Regions from separate parts of the Homo sapiens genome. Here region 1 is linked to region 2. The links are contacts of gene promoters, found by promoter capture Hi-C in blood cells and fetal thymus (Javierre and others, 2016). All regions are on one chromosome and are shown on one strand. The core of a region is centred on a gene start or on the middle of the fragment in contact, and the rest is flanking DNA. Distances in the headings are between cores, read along the strand shown. Region 1 overlaps AREL1 (apoptosis resistant E3 ubiquitin protein ligase 1). Region 2 holds the start of LTBP2 (latent transforming growth factor beta binding protein 2).

The links. The method cuts DNA at HindIII sites, captures the fragments that hold promoters and counts their contacts. A CHiCAGO score of 5 or more calls a contact.
Region 1: a fragment that was not itself captured here is called in contact with the fragment with the promoter of LTBP2 in region 2 in 2 of 17 cell types (endothelial precursors and total CD8 T cells); the score reaches 5.3 in endothelial precursors.

What each region holds. Positions count from the first base shown.
Region 1 is chr14:74,705,184-74,711,791 of GRCh38, forward strand. All of the region lies in intron 1 of AREL1 (apoptosis resistant E3 ubiquitin protein ligase 1), which reads right to left. Among named protein-coding and RNA genes, the nearest start is that of AREL1, 4.6 kb to the right of the region's middle. The HindIII fragment of the contact is 3,826 bases long and covers 1,555-5,380 here.
Region 2 is chr14:74,610,853-74,617,871 of GRCh38, forward strand. LTBP2 (latent transforming growth factor beta binding protein 2) reads right to left here and starts at 1,385. Exons shown (of 36, transcript NM_000428.3): 1 at 599-1,385. The coding sequence starts at 1,092. It overlaps LOC101928352 (a long non-coding RNA gene), which reads left to right and starts at 2,333. Exons shown (of 2, transcript XR_944029.4): 1 at 2,333-2,443; 2 at 2,715-3,196. RefSeq lists enhancers at 1,441-2,068, 6,677-7,019 and a silencer at 1,696-2,015. The HindIII fragment of the contact is 11,176 bases long and covers 1-5,549 here.

The DNA of each region.
Region 1 (6,608 bases), core at 2,218-4,717, 96 kb after region 2:
CATGCGTCACCACGCCCAGCTAATTTTGTATTTTTAGTAGAGACGGGGTTTCTCCATGTTGGTCAGGCTGGTCTCGAACTCCCGACCTCAGGTGATTCGCCCACCTCAGCCTCCCTAAGTGCTGGGATTACAGGCGTGAGCCACCATGCCTGGCCCCAGTTATAGTCTATTTCTGAATTTGGAAAGATTTTAATATTTTAACAGATTTTTCCTCTCTTCAATCTAGTAAATGGAATGCTTAAGTTTAGCCAAGGTTTTAGTCCCTCACTTCTCTCCAAATCCACATAAGACCTCTGCACCCCTGATACTGGTTCTTAAAACAACAACTAAATTCCACAACCCAGAACATGCACCTTGAAGTTAAGCCAGGGACAATAAACTAGTTACCCTTCTGGCTTTAACGAGAGTCTTTTATAAGATCATGCCCACCTTACTGAGTCACTCTAACCTGTGATGAGACTGGAAAATGTTGTCCTATAATCACTCACTGGTTAAATTAAAATTTAGGCTTATAAAGGTTAAGCTAACCAAGACAAAAGTAATTCTGCATTTCTTAATTCAGTTTGGATTCTCTCTATTGCACCATTCTCTCTAAAACAAGCCAGAGTTCTTCAGACCCGTATTTCTTTTTGTATAGTATACACAAAGGCATAGCTTAGATTCAGCTGTCCCTGGAGTTGTTTGCCATTCATTCTCAGCACAGTTTAGAGAAAGCAGGAAAAAGGGATTCAAAGCTAATGTTGAGTATAACAGGGAAAACAAGAAGTGAGAATTTACCATTGCTCATTTTGTAACCTCATGGGGAGAAAAACAAAAGAGAAAACTGGCTCATCCATGTCACTGTCCCATTCTTAACCCTAAATCTAGAAAATACTAGCTTCAGTTTCCTCTTCCCTCCTATCTTGATGTGTTTTCTATATACAAAACTGACTCTGCTATGCCTGAGCCACAGAGGACAGGCCCCCATGTTCCCATCTCATGGCAGCTTTTATGCTTAGGTGACTTTGGACCACTGAATCTTGGCTATAACAGGAAGATTTTAAAAGTAATTCTTTGAACCTGACAAGCCGTCTCCCTCAATAAGTCTAGGAAGCTATTATTCCATTAACTGCGCCTGAAGTGGCAGGCACACAGCCAGATCTGCAGCCCAGTCGGGTGGAACTGGAATGGTCACACGTATACTTAAAAGCTAACTCTGCCTCTACTACCATCCATTACTTTCAATTCTGTGCTTATTTTTAAGGAAAATAAATTATTTATATAATTGAAAGGAAAAACAATGTTAATTAAATGAGCATTTTGTAGTTAAGATTCCAAGAAGAAAAACTCAACTAGCCACAGAAATGGCACCCTAAGATAGCTGGATTTGAAGGAGAAACTCAACACTTACCTATTCAAAACAAAATTTCTGTTGACCTAATAATCAGTTTTACCAAAGAAAGGTCTATTAATTTCTTCAAATGCATATTAAGAAGCGACCACATGCCAAGCAATATGTTGGACCCTAAAGATTCCAGAATGAGTAAAATATTCTCAACACTTTAGAAACATAAAAGCTTAGTAAAGAAGACAGACAAATAAATAATTACGTAGTTATACTTCCGTGTAGTAAAATCTATGAGGTGAGCATAGAGGGTATGGATGGATACCTTAATCAAGATCAGCTCTTAGCTTCTCAGGAAAGTTCACATCACCCTCCTGGAAGCAAAGTCAACTCTTCCATAGAGTTAACAATGCTTTGGGGGTCAAGGAATACAAAACACTACCTATGAAGTATTACTTATTCTCAGGGTCAATGACTCTCTTCAACACTCGTCAGAGGGGATTCTTGGACCACATACATAGCACAGAAAAAGCACTCACTGGAAATACCAACTTATTTATCAAAATTATACACGATCTGGTCGGGCACAGTGACTCATGCCTATAATCCCAGCACTTTGGGAGGCCGAGGCGGGCAGATCACCTGAGGTCAGAATTTCGAGACCAGCCTGGCCAACATGGTGAAATCCCATCTCTACTAAAAATACAAAAATTAGCCAGGCGTGGTGGCAGGCGCCTGTAATCCCAGCTACTCGGGAGGCTGAGGCCGGAGAATAGTTTGAACCCAGGAGGCAGAAGTGGCAGTGAGCCAAAATGGTGCCATTGCACTCCAGCCTGGGTGACAAGAGCGAAACTCCATTTTAAAAAAAAAAGAGGCCGGGCACAGTGGATCACACCGGTAATCCCAGCACTTTGGGAGGCCAAGGTGGGCGGATTACGAGGTCAGGAGATCGAGACCACCCTGGCTAAAATGGTGAAATCCCATCTCTACTAAAAATACAAAAAATGGCCGGGCACAGTGGCTCACACCTGTAATCCCAGCACTTTGGGAGGCCCAGGCAGGTGGGTCACAAGGTCAGGAGATCGAGACCTTCCTGGCTAACATGTGAAACCCCGTCTCTACTAAAAATACAAAAAATTAGCTGGGTGTGGTGGTGGGCGCCTGTAGTCCCAGCTACTTGGGAGGCTGAGGCAGGAGAAAGGTGTGAACCCAGGAGGCGGAGCTTGCAGTGAGCCGAGATCGCGCCACTGCACTCCAGCCTGGGCGACAGAGTGAGATTCGTCTCAAAAAAAAAAAAAAATTAGACGGGTATGGTGGCGGGCGCCTATAGTCCCAGCTACTTGGGAGGCTGAGGCGGGAGAATGGCGTGAACCCGGGAGGCGGAGCTTGCAGTGAGCCGAGATGGCGCCACTGCACTCCAGCCTGGGCGACAGAGTGAGACCTTCGCCTCAGAAAAAAAAAAAAAAAAAGAAATTACACATGATCTAACTGGAATGTGGTATTCTAGATTCAGTTTGGGTATAGAAAAAGGAAATTAGTGGAGAAACTTGTGAAATCCAAATAAAGTCTATAGTTTAGTAATAGTATTGTACCAATGTTAATTTCTTAGATGTGACAGTATGTGCCATGGTTATGTAAGAAGTTAACATTAGGAGACACCGGTGAAAGGTATACAGGAATACTCTGTACTATCTTTGCAACTTTTTTATAAATTTAAAATTATTCCACAATTTAAAACAATTTAATTACAGATGGTGCTCCCCTTTACATTCTCACTCCCCCTTAGAATTCTAATCATGTCTCCCTAATCATTGCCCCAATTCAGGTAATGCCAGCCTAAAACTTTTTAAATATCTTTTTTAACCCCTTTCTATGAACTGTTTGCACAGCCCACCTGGGATTTCTTCTTTACCAAGACATGAAAAACTAGATCACACTTGGGAAGTTTTAACTGTTTTCTGTTCCTAATAGGTTTACCATATATACCGGGGGTACCTTGAATTTGAACTTCCCAAAGCGGACAAGAGAGGGGTTAAAATAACATGCTCTGGGTCTCTGGATAAAAGCAAGGGGACATTACAGAAAATATGTTGTATATTAATAAATTATCTAATCTCTGGCCAAAAAGTACAATATATAGAAAATCAATTAACAGATGTTAACTATTGGCATCTCAACAGTAACAAGCTGCACTGAAATAAATGCCTTCGCTCTGAAAAACATGATGCAAATTGCTCAACTATTCAAGATAACAAAAACTCATAAAATCATATGGAACCGTTCAATTAGACTAAATGACAAAACATGTATCTACCATGACTATTTAGTTTCTAATAGCTAAGTGAATACCCATCTTTCTCTATAAACCCTATCTTGTAGAACAGTCTTCAAAAGAGCCACCAGGAAAACATCACTATGGTGCTGTAACACCATATCAACAGCTCAGGCATGCGTGTGTGTACACACACATACATACACACAAACTGCAATAAGGTTAAACAACCTCAAAAGTTTGAAAACTACTATATGAAAGAACATTAGTGAAGGCTAAGCATTCAGAACCCTTCAAAGAAAAAGAAACCAAAGAAAAATAACTGAAATTTAAACCCAAGTTAGTTAATAGCTAAAGTCATTTAAAAGGTAAAACGGTCAGGCACAGTGGCTCATGCCTCTTCTCCCAGCTACTCAGGAAGCTGAGGTGGGAGGATGGCTTGAGGCCAGGAGTTCAAGATCAGCCTGGGCAACATAGCAAGATCTAATAAATAATAAATAAAAGGTAAAATGATACACTAGAGTCCATTAAGGTCATAAAATCTGATCTATTACATGGTACTAATATGTTGATAGTATTAAATAAATATTACACAACAGTACTCTGACCTGGACCACTTACAGAAAGATGAACAAGAAGAGTAATTCCTCTAAAATATTTCAACTCCCACATCTCTATTCAGCCACCAACCATACTTTACCTATTTACAAGTCTTTCTGTAATACAGGACTGTGGTGAGATTGCCCAGGACAGAATGGGCCCTCAATAAATGCTTTCTGAATGAATGACCAAGCGGCAGTAATCTATCTCTGAGGTATTCTTACAAACCAATTCAATATCAAGACCTCAGAAGCAGAACATGCTGTATGCCATGCTACCACATTTAGGGGCAGGCAAGTTAATTGAAAAATAATTAACAGCGACTAATGTTTGTTGGGAGAAAAAAAGTCCTATCATGTAAGTCAGAAAAATAAATGTAAAAACTATAACTTGAAAATGGACAAAAAAGTGAATCTACTTATAACTTTCTAACATTGAAATACAAGATGTTCTTTAAGGAGTCTTTCATTATCCAGAATAATTTTACAAAGAAATTTGATACCAACTTAAATTAGTAAGTTAGACCAATTAGTGAATGGAATGAAGTCCAAGCCCAATTATGTGTTCAAACTGTGTGTCCAATGCCTTGGGTGATTTTTTCTCTTCAAGACTGCAGAAAAATGCAAAACAACCCTCTTGACTGCTGAGAAGGACTAAAATCATTTCTTTTCCTCACAAGTATGTGCCCAAAAGCAATTACTTTCTGCTCCCATCCATCACAAATCAACACTACCTCCCAGCTTCGCATCCCCCACTTTCCATCCCCATCAAAGAATGCTGTAGAGTATCTGACCACTTTCATTTCACGCTATAAGAACCTCAGATTGCAATAAAATTACAATGCAACAAAAACAAATTTTTCTAAGTATGTTCTTATCCCCCATGGTGTTCCTACACTAATTTAGCTCCCTATTAGGTATTAACAATCAAGGAAATCAGAACACTCTCAATAGAGGTTACAATAGAAATTACAAATGGCCTTTTTTTAAGTTGTTGTTGTTCATGGATTCCAAAATTCAAAGTACACATTACCAGAAGAGCGTTTTTCTGTCAGTGCCTAAATTTAAATGCAAATTACTATTTAATGATATGCAATTTTCCCTCTGAACCTATATATAATACTAATGAGTCAAATGTTTAAGAAGAATAACTGACCATGTTATTTTAGCTTTTAGACAATAAAAAGCTTATTGTCTAATCACCAAGAGATACATCAAAAAACTGGTTGCTATTAGCTCTACACATGAATGGCAGCTTGACAGAGACAAGCTGCTCCAGAAAGATTAGGAACTTCTAGTGACCACAAATGGGGTAAAGCAGAAGGCACATACAGTATCTGTAGCTACCATTTCTACATCAAAAATTCAGTGCCCACAGATATGTAAACTATTAAGCCATCTAAATGAATGTGTGCCTGAAAGAGAAAGGAGAAGCAGAAAAAGTTTACACCCAAATCAACAGAAGAAATCACCCTGCGATTGAGCATCCCAGGACCTGAAAACTTAATGTTTTGAGGTTTATGAACACGTTCAAGTTCCAGTGCAACTATGTTAAAATAAAATTGGGCTGGTGCCAGGCACGGTGGCTCACGCCTGTAATCCCAGCACTTTGGGAGGCCAAGGTGGGCGGATCACCTGAGGTCGGGAGTTCAAGACCAGTCTGACCAACATGGAGAAACCCCGTCTCTACTAAAAATATAAAATCAGCCAGGCGTGTTGGCGCACGCCTGTAATCCCAGCTACTCAGGAGGCTGAGGCAGGAGAATCGCTTAAACCTGGGAGGTGGAGGTTGCAGTGAGCCGAGATTGCGCCATTGCACTCCAGCCTGGGTAACAAGAGCGAAACTAACTCCGTCTCAAAAAAAAAAAAAAAAAATTGGGGCTTGGCACAGTGGCTCACGTCTGTAATCCCAGAACTTTGGGAGGCCGAGGTGGGCAGATCACCTGAGGTCAGGAGTTTGAGACCAGCCTTGCCAACATGGTGAAACCCATCTCTATTAAAAATACAAAAATTAGCAAGGTATGGTGGCACACACATGCCTGCAGTCCCAGCTACTCGGGAGGCTGAGGCAGGAGAATTGCTTGAACCTGGGAGGGGGAGGTTGCTGTGAGCCGAGATTGCGCCACTGCACTCCAACCTGGGCAGCAGAGGGAGGCTCTGTCTCAAAAATAAAATAAAATAAAATAAAATAAAATTGGCATAAAATTCCAACCCTGCCACACATCCTCAAGTTGGAAGACACACAATGGTAACAACAGAAAACACTCTGAGTAGTCTGGTTTACACTCTTCTAGGGACCTCGCATGTTAACTATGAATAAACATAAGTCCTGATAACATCCCAATAAAAGAGTGCTACTATGATTATCTCCATTTTACAGATAAAGAAACTGAGATGCAGATAGATTAACTCA
Region 2 (7,019 bases), core at 135-2,634:
GACACGCTTCCCGCCCAAAGTACCCAGAGCTCACGCCCACGCCCGCATCCAGCCCTCAGCGTGCGCAGGCCGACCCACGCCCCACGACACTTGTCCCGACGCACCAGCTTCGCTGCCGGCTCCCCTCCTGGAGACGCATCTACCTTCTCTCCATGGGGCCCCCGACACCTCCGCCAACCCGCGCTCTGAGCCAGCTCAACCTCCCCTGGGCGTCAAGAGCCTGGAGCGCCCACCCTCCTGCCCTCTCCCCGCTGCCTCTCAGATCCCGGCAGCGCTGCAAGAGTCTACAAGAGCTCGTTAGTTGCAGGCAGGAGGAACGCGGGCGAGTGGAGAGGCGCCTTGCGAAAGGATTTAACGTCGGGGCTCCGGGAGAGTTGGTAAGAAAGGATGAGGATGATGATCTATCTGCCTTCAACTCTTCGAAAGCGGATCAAATCTTCCAATCCCGATTTTGGAACCTCGGGGCTGTTTCCCGAAGTACTAAAGACAGAGGGACGAGGGTATGAGAGCGGCGCCCTCTCCTCTCGCCTGCACGCCCCTCCACAAATGAGCCCTGGCTCCCCTCTGTACCCTCCAAACTTCCCTCTCCCATGCTCACCCCGTGAGCCGCCCTCGCGGCGGGGTTGGGGGCGCAGCCCCAGACCGCTGTGGGGTCCCCAGGCGTGGGAGAGCCGGCGCGGCCCGGGTCCGGGGTGCTGGTTGCTGCTGGCCCAGGGGAGTGCTTCTCCGGGTCTGCGCAGGTGGCTGGACACGCCGCGACTGCTGCGCGCGGGACGGCCTCCTGGCCTCCGCCTCGGTGGGCCTCCTGGGGCTCCCCCAGCCCGGCTGGGCCCGCTCCACGGGCTGCAAGCCCGCGACAGGCGCGTCCTGCTCCCGGAACAGACTGTACACCTTGGCTGCAGCCGCTGCCGGGTAGCTGCCCCCAGGGCGCCGCAGTCGATTCGCGTCTCCACCAGCCGGCTCGTATCTCCCTACGGGGTCCCTTTGGGCATGACCCGCGCCCACGAAGAGAGCCAGGGTGAGCGGCAGGAAGCCTCTCCAGGGGTTCCGCAGGGCGCGCCCCGGGCTGCGGGCTTTGGTCCGCGGCCTCATGGCGCGGGGCGGCTGGAGAGTGGTGCGCGCGGGCACCGCGAAGAGCTTTGTGGTCGGCACGCTGGACGCCCGCGGGCTGTTCTCCCGGCCCCGCCCGGCGGCCAGCTTCTCTGAGTCTAGGGGGCCCTGAAGCGGCCGACTGGGGGCCCGGCTCTCGGCGGAACGAGGGCTGCGCGCCCCGAGCCTCGAGTCCGCGCTCCTACTCCAGCTGGGCTCGCACGGCTGCTGCACCTTCGCGCCTCCTCCCTGTGCCTGCAGCCGTCTGAAGGGGACCCGGACGGTTTTATTTTTGGAAACCTCCCCCGGCTTTTTCGTCTCTTTTATCCACACCAGGCCCCCTCCTCGGAGGGACAGCTCAGCCCCCTCATTACCGGAGAGGGAGCGAGGAATTCCAGCAACACCCACTTTGGCACCGGGAAGCCAGCGGGCGGCGAGCGGGCGGCGAGGGGGATTAACCCGTGCGGAGCAGGGGGCGGCGCGGGGCTGACCCAGGCGCTGGTCGGGCAGATGGCGCCTGCCACGACCGGGACACTGGGCCGCCTTTCTCCTGCTCTGGGCAAGTTCGAACTGCAGACCTGCCCCGAATCGTTCTCCCGCCCCTCGCCTCAGGGACCGTCTTTGGATCGGGGGACCCAGGCTGCAGCCTTGCAGGTCTGAAGGAAGCCGGGAGGGGCGCCGAGGCCCGCGTAGGGGAACAGGGCCGCCGCCCCCTCCGCTTGCGCCCTGGCCGCTGGGGGCGCCCTCCGCAGGGCCGGCCGGAGCGGGGGTGGCGCGGGGCGGGGCGCGGCGCGCGGAGCGCAGGGAGGTCCCGGGCGCGCCCCCTGGCGGAGCTGGCGGCCCTGGCGCTCCGTGGCTGCAATGCCCTGGCGCCGCCGCCTTCGCTCTGGATCTCAATCCCCTTCCACTGGCGTGAGGGTCACGCCTGAGCCTGGCGCGGTGATGGCTGCCGGTAGAAGAGGGGTCCTCTTTTTCTTTTTCTTTTTCTTTTCTTTCTTTCTTTCTTTCTTTTTTTTGAGACGGAGTTTCGCTCTTGTTGCCCAGGCTGGAGTGCAATGGTGCGATCTCAGCTCCCCGCAACCTCCGCCTCCCGGGTTCAAGCGATTCCCCTGCCTCAGCCTCCCTAGTAGCTGGGATTACAGGCATGCGCCACCAAGTCTGACTAATTTTGTATATTATTTTATTTTTTAGTACAGACGGGGTTTCTCCATGTTGGTCAGGCTGGTCTCGAACTCCCAACCTCAGGTGATCCGCCCGCCTCGGCCTCCCAAAGTGCTGGGATTAAAGGCGTGAGCCACCACGCCCGGCCAAGGGGTCCTCTTTTTCACCGAGGCAAAGACACGGAGCCTCTTGAGTAAGTCACTCAAGGAGATAGCGCATGTGAAAGAGGGGAGTGGAATCTAGGCCTCCCGCCTCTGGCTGAATCCATTCCCGGGATCCCACCCAGCCCTTCACTCTCTCGGGAATTTCCCAGAGGGGGATTCGGTGACCCCGATTGACCCAGTGTGTGCATTCACATCTTGTGTTAGCAGGGAGGCGGGCAGGGGTGTGGGAATGCTGACTGCCGCTGTCTGCGTGTCCCCAGTAATCAGCACACCATTCTCACCCATGCTCCCTCCCTACAGCCTAAAGGCTTGGATCAACAGGGCTGCCCCTGGCACATTTGTACAGCCTATTTCCCAGAGAGGCAGAGTGAAGGAGCTGGCATGTGGGCACCAGTTCACAACCTCCCACACCACACAAAAGACAAGCCCAGGTAATATCTACTGTTGAAATAAAGCCTCGACCCCTGGCCTTGGCCTACAAACCCTAGCTGGCTGCCCCCGCTCTGATTTCATCTGGCCTCTTGCTCTCCCTTACCCACCACACTGTGCTGCCTTGGCCCTCTCTCTGCTCCTTGAACAAGCCAAGTGAATGCCCCCTTCCCTCTACTGGAAGGTTCCTCTCCAGGATGTTAGAGGGTAGTTCCTCATCACTGCTCCTCTCAGATTAAATATCAGCTCCTGGAGTAGCCATCCCTGACCTCCAATCTAGAGCAGCCCTCCCTCACCCCAGTCATGACTCTAACACACCACCCTGTTTCATCTTCATAAAACAGTTGACATCATCTTGTTATTGATTTGTTTGCTCGTGTAACTGAATTTTTTAATGGGCTGAACCTAAAGAGGGACTATCCAGAAACTGCTCCACTACTACCTTCAACCATATTATGGTAAATTTCCCTTTCCCACCCTTAATGACATCTCAGGCAGAGTCCTTGGCTTGAGAGGTCATCCCTACCAGACACGAGAACTATTCTATTAATATAATTAAGACCCATTTTCAGACACAAAAAGTCTGCTCCTGTCCAGATCAAAATCTCATCCAAGTTAATCAATATCACATCCCATTTAATAGTCCTCCTCTCCCCTGTCCCTTTGCTAGAGATCCTGCAGTGGTGAGAGTGGGGTGTGGTCTGTTTTCCTGACCTCCCTTTTCTGCTGTGGCTCCTCTTTGTCAAGGCTGGGAGAGAGGTGTTAGAGGAAAAGTAGCAAAGTCTTATGTGACAGGTACCCTTGGTTGGCAGGTGCCAAGCGCTGGCTTTTTCATGGGCACATATGTGGGTTTTTGGGAGGTTCTCTACAGGACCTCCACCCTGAGTTGCCATAGCAAATTACTCTCTGGCCAACCTCTCGGAGACCCCTGCATCCTCTGTCTCTCATAGGACTGTCCCACCTATGCCAGGCAAAACAATGGTGGGTTGGCCGCTCCTCACCCTGCCCACTTCTCACCTTGCCACACAGGCCACTCCAGCGAGGCTCCACGATCAGAATTCTCCAGACAGGAAGTGCACACAAGTCTCTTCATTTATGTACGTCCTCAATTCCTAAAGACATATGTTGGGTTCTCCCATGAACTGTCTTGCTGTAGTTTAATGCACCGAGGTGCCTGTAACATCCAGCAACATAGTCAGCATCAGTGGGGGGACAGTTATAGGGACAGAGCCTCCTCTTCTTGCAGATGACTGGTTCTCTCTGGGAGCTCCCTTCATTTGGTTTGAGTTGGGGAGTTCCCTCAGGGGAAATCTCAGCCCTGCCCACAAATGCAGCAGTGTTATGCTTCAGTGACTTTCTTCAATCCCTTTCATTTGTAGACTGGAATTGAGGGATGTAGTTTGATTGCTGTTGAACCTGTTCTGCCTTTAGTAAGGTGTCTAGTACTTCTCTTCAGAATGCAAGAATATTTAGCCCTCATTGTTCTATCTTTGTGGCTTCAGCAGATATTCCAAGAGCAGAGGAAAAGTCCTATTCAACAACCTATAAAATCATTTCTTGTCTGACTTCCCAAACCACAATGACAGCTCTAAAGCAACAGATATCTTGTCTGCGTTGCTCACCACTGTTTCTGCAGAACCTAGAACAGCCAAGAAGTATGTGTGAAATGGATAGCTAACTGAATGAAGGACACAGTAATCCCATCAAGTGGGGAGGGCTGGTATCATTAGACCCATTTTAAGAGAGAGGAACTGAGTTCTGGGTGGCAGCTCCTGATCCAGGTTCATGTGCTTGCTGCCTTTGGGGCTGGCTCTAAAGATCTCCTTGAACCCTACCCCTTGCATTTGACCATGAATGCCCCTTAGTTCCCAGAATGCTGCGTTCTGTTCCTGGGATGCTGCTCCTTCACAGCTGTGGAAGCCCCAGGTCCACACTTACCTCTCCTTGCCCAGATATCCACCCACCTCTGTAGTTCTGGGCTCCCTTCCTCTCCCCGGAACCTACCCACTTCCTTCAGAAGCTCCCCTCTAGATCCCTCAAGACCCACCTCAGATCCCCGTGGGCCTCCAAAAGCCAGAAACCTTGGCATCATCTTCGTCCCTGAGCTATTTTTTCCTCCTGTGTGTCCAAGTCATTATTACTGCTCCGTCTCCTCCGTCTGCATTTCTGGAAGTCTGCCGCCCATTCATCCCTCACCCTTCGCCTCCGCCAAAACCCTCACGCAGACCAACTTTCCCTCACCATCGGGCGCCCCTTCCACTCCTCAGTGAGTACAAGTGGTCCTTGGACGTTCCCACCCTGTTCGCCTGGGGACCATAACCCAGTTCATCTACTCCAAAGACTGGCATCTTCTACCCCATCCCGGCGCCACACTCTGTCCTGCCACCTACTTACTGCCCATATCTCCCTTACCCTCTAACTGCTGGGACTGATTGCAGCTCTTCAGAATCTCCAATCCCACAAACACTTGAGTTTTGCTTTTTTTTTTTAACCTGCCAAAATCGATAGAGCCTACTTTAGTCCAAACGCCATACTAAGCATGTTACATCAATTGGCTGATTTAACCAACCAAAGGAGGCATTATGATTTCCACGCATACAAAGGAGGAAACTGAGGTTGGCAATGGCTACTGGCTTGCCCAAGATGGCACAGCTGATAAATAGCAGAGGCAGGATTCAAACCTGGATCATTTTCCACCTGAGCCCAAGCTTTTAAGGTTACACCGCCTTGCCTCCACCCCGGGCTTGTAAGCCTGGAGCCCTCTTCACAATTGAATCATGACCTTTCCAACCACCCCACCACTATCACCACCAAAGGAGCTCTAGGGCATATCCCCAAATGCCCTCTTCCCTGCCTGCCAGCCCACTGTTCATGTACCTGGAGCTCATGTACCTGGAGATGTGGAGTTATCAGAACTTTCTGCCACCCTTAATCCTCTTGGCCCAGTGAAAGAAGGGAAGCTGTTTCAGCATGGCCGCTGACTCACCGTGTGTCACTTCCCCACCCCCTGATTAAAGCCTTCTCCCTCATTAGATCGCTGCTAAGCCTACTCACCCATCTCTTGGGTCTGGAGAGGAAAATCATCTCTGGAAAACCCGGCAGAGAGAGTCTAAAGGGTTGATAAAGAGATTCCAGCAGGGAAAGGTTTGCCCAGACACATGCCCCATGCAAGGGACAGCAGTCTCCTGGACTCCCAGGGCAAACTCACTGCTTTTCCATGTCTCACTGGAATAATGTTGGCAGCCAGAGGTCTACCAGAACCTGAGCTAATTTGGTAAATAAGGACCAAAAACAAGGGCCACATTTCGGCCCCCTTTGCTGAGACCCAGACTCCTGAAAGAATTCCAGGGATTTTTCTTGCTTGGAAGTAACTGGACCTCCAGCCCTGAATTCCTCTCCCCAGGAGAGCTTGTTCCCCTGCTCAGAACAAATAACACATTTCCTGGTTAATCAGAGGGCAGAATCGCTGAAGGAAAGTTTGACTGGGCCCCCAGCCTTCCAGACGGGAGCCGCTCATGGGCTTGGATGTTCTGCTCCAGACACTGGGCAGCTGGGACCCCAGCACTGCGCAGCCTCAGCCTCCAGTTTGGAAGGTGCAGGCCGTACAGAGAGGTGCCGACTCCCTCCTGTGTGAGGTTGTTAAGGCCCGCAAAGGCTGCCAGAACCATTCCACCTTAGGTGCCATGACCTGGCGTCCCCTCAAGAATTCACAACCACCCTGCCCTGGTCTGCCGGTGCCTGTCTCCTCCAAGTGGGTATGACATGCTGGCTGGTGGTGATAGCCATGGTATGGATGTTCCTGCAAAGGTAAGGTGAGCTGGCCTGTATTTCAGAGTGTGCTGGAAAGGGCCCTCCCACAAACATGTGGTGAACATTTACGTCTTCTGTGAGCGGAGCACAGTTCTGAGCTCATTTCCGTCTTCTGTGAATGCAGCACAGTTCTGAGCTTCATTTGGCTTCTACTTTCTTATCTGAAAGTTGAGATAATGATGTTCTTTTTGCCATTTTTCTCTTCAGGACAAACTAGCTAGCCAGCCCTGTTTACCCTGTCATGGGGCTAGGGGCAGGTGTCAATTACTACTCCTCCATTTACCAACTGATATTTCATTTATTGTTTGTTTGTTTGTTTGAGACAGGGTCTCACTCTGTCACCCAGGCTGGAGTGCAGTGGCACAA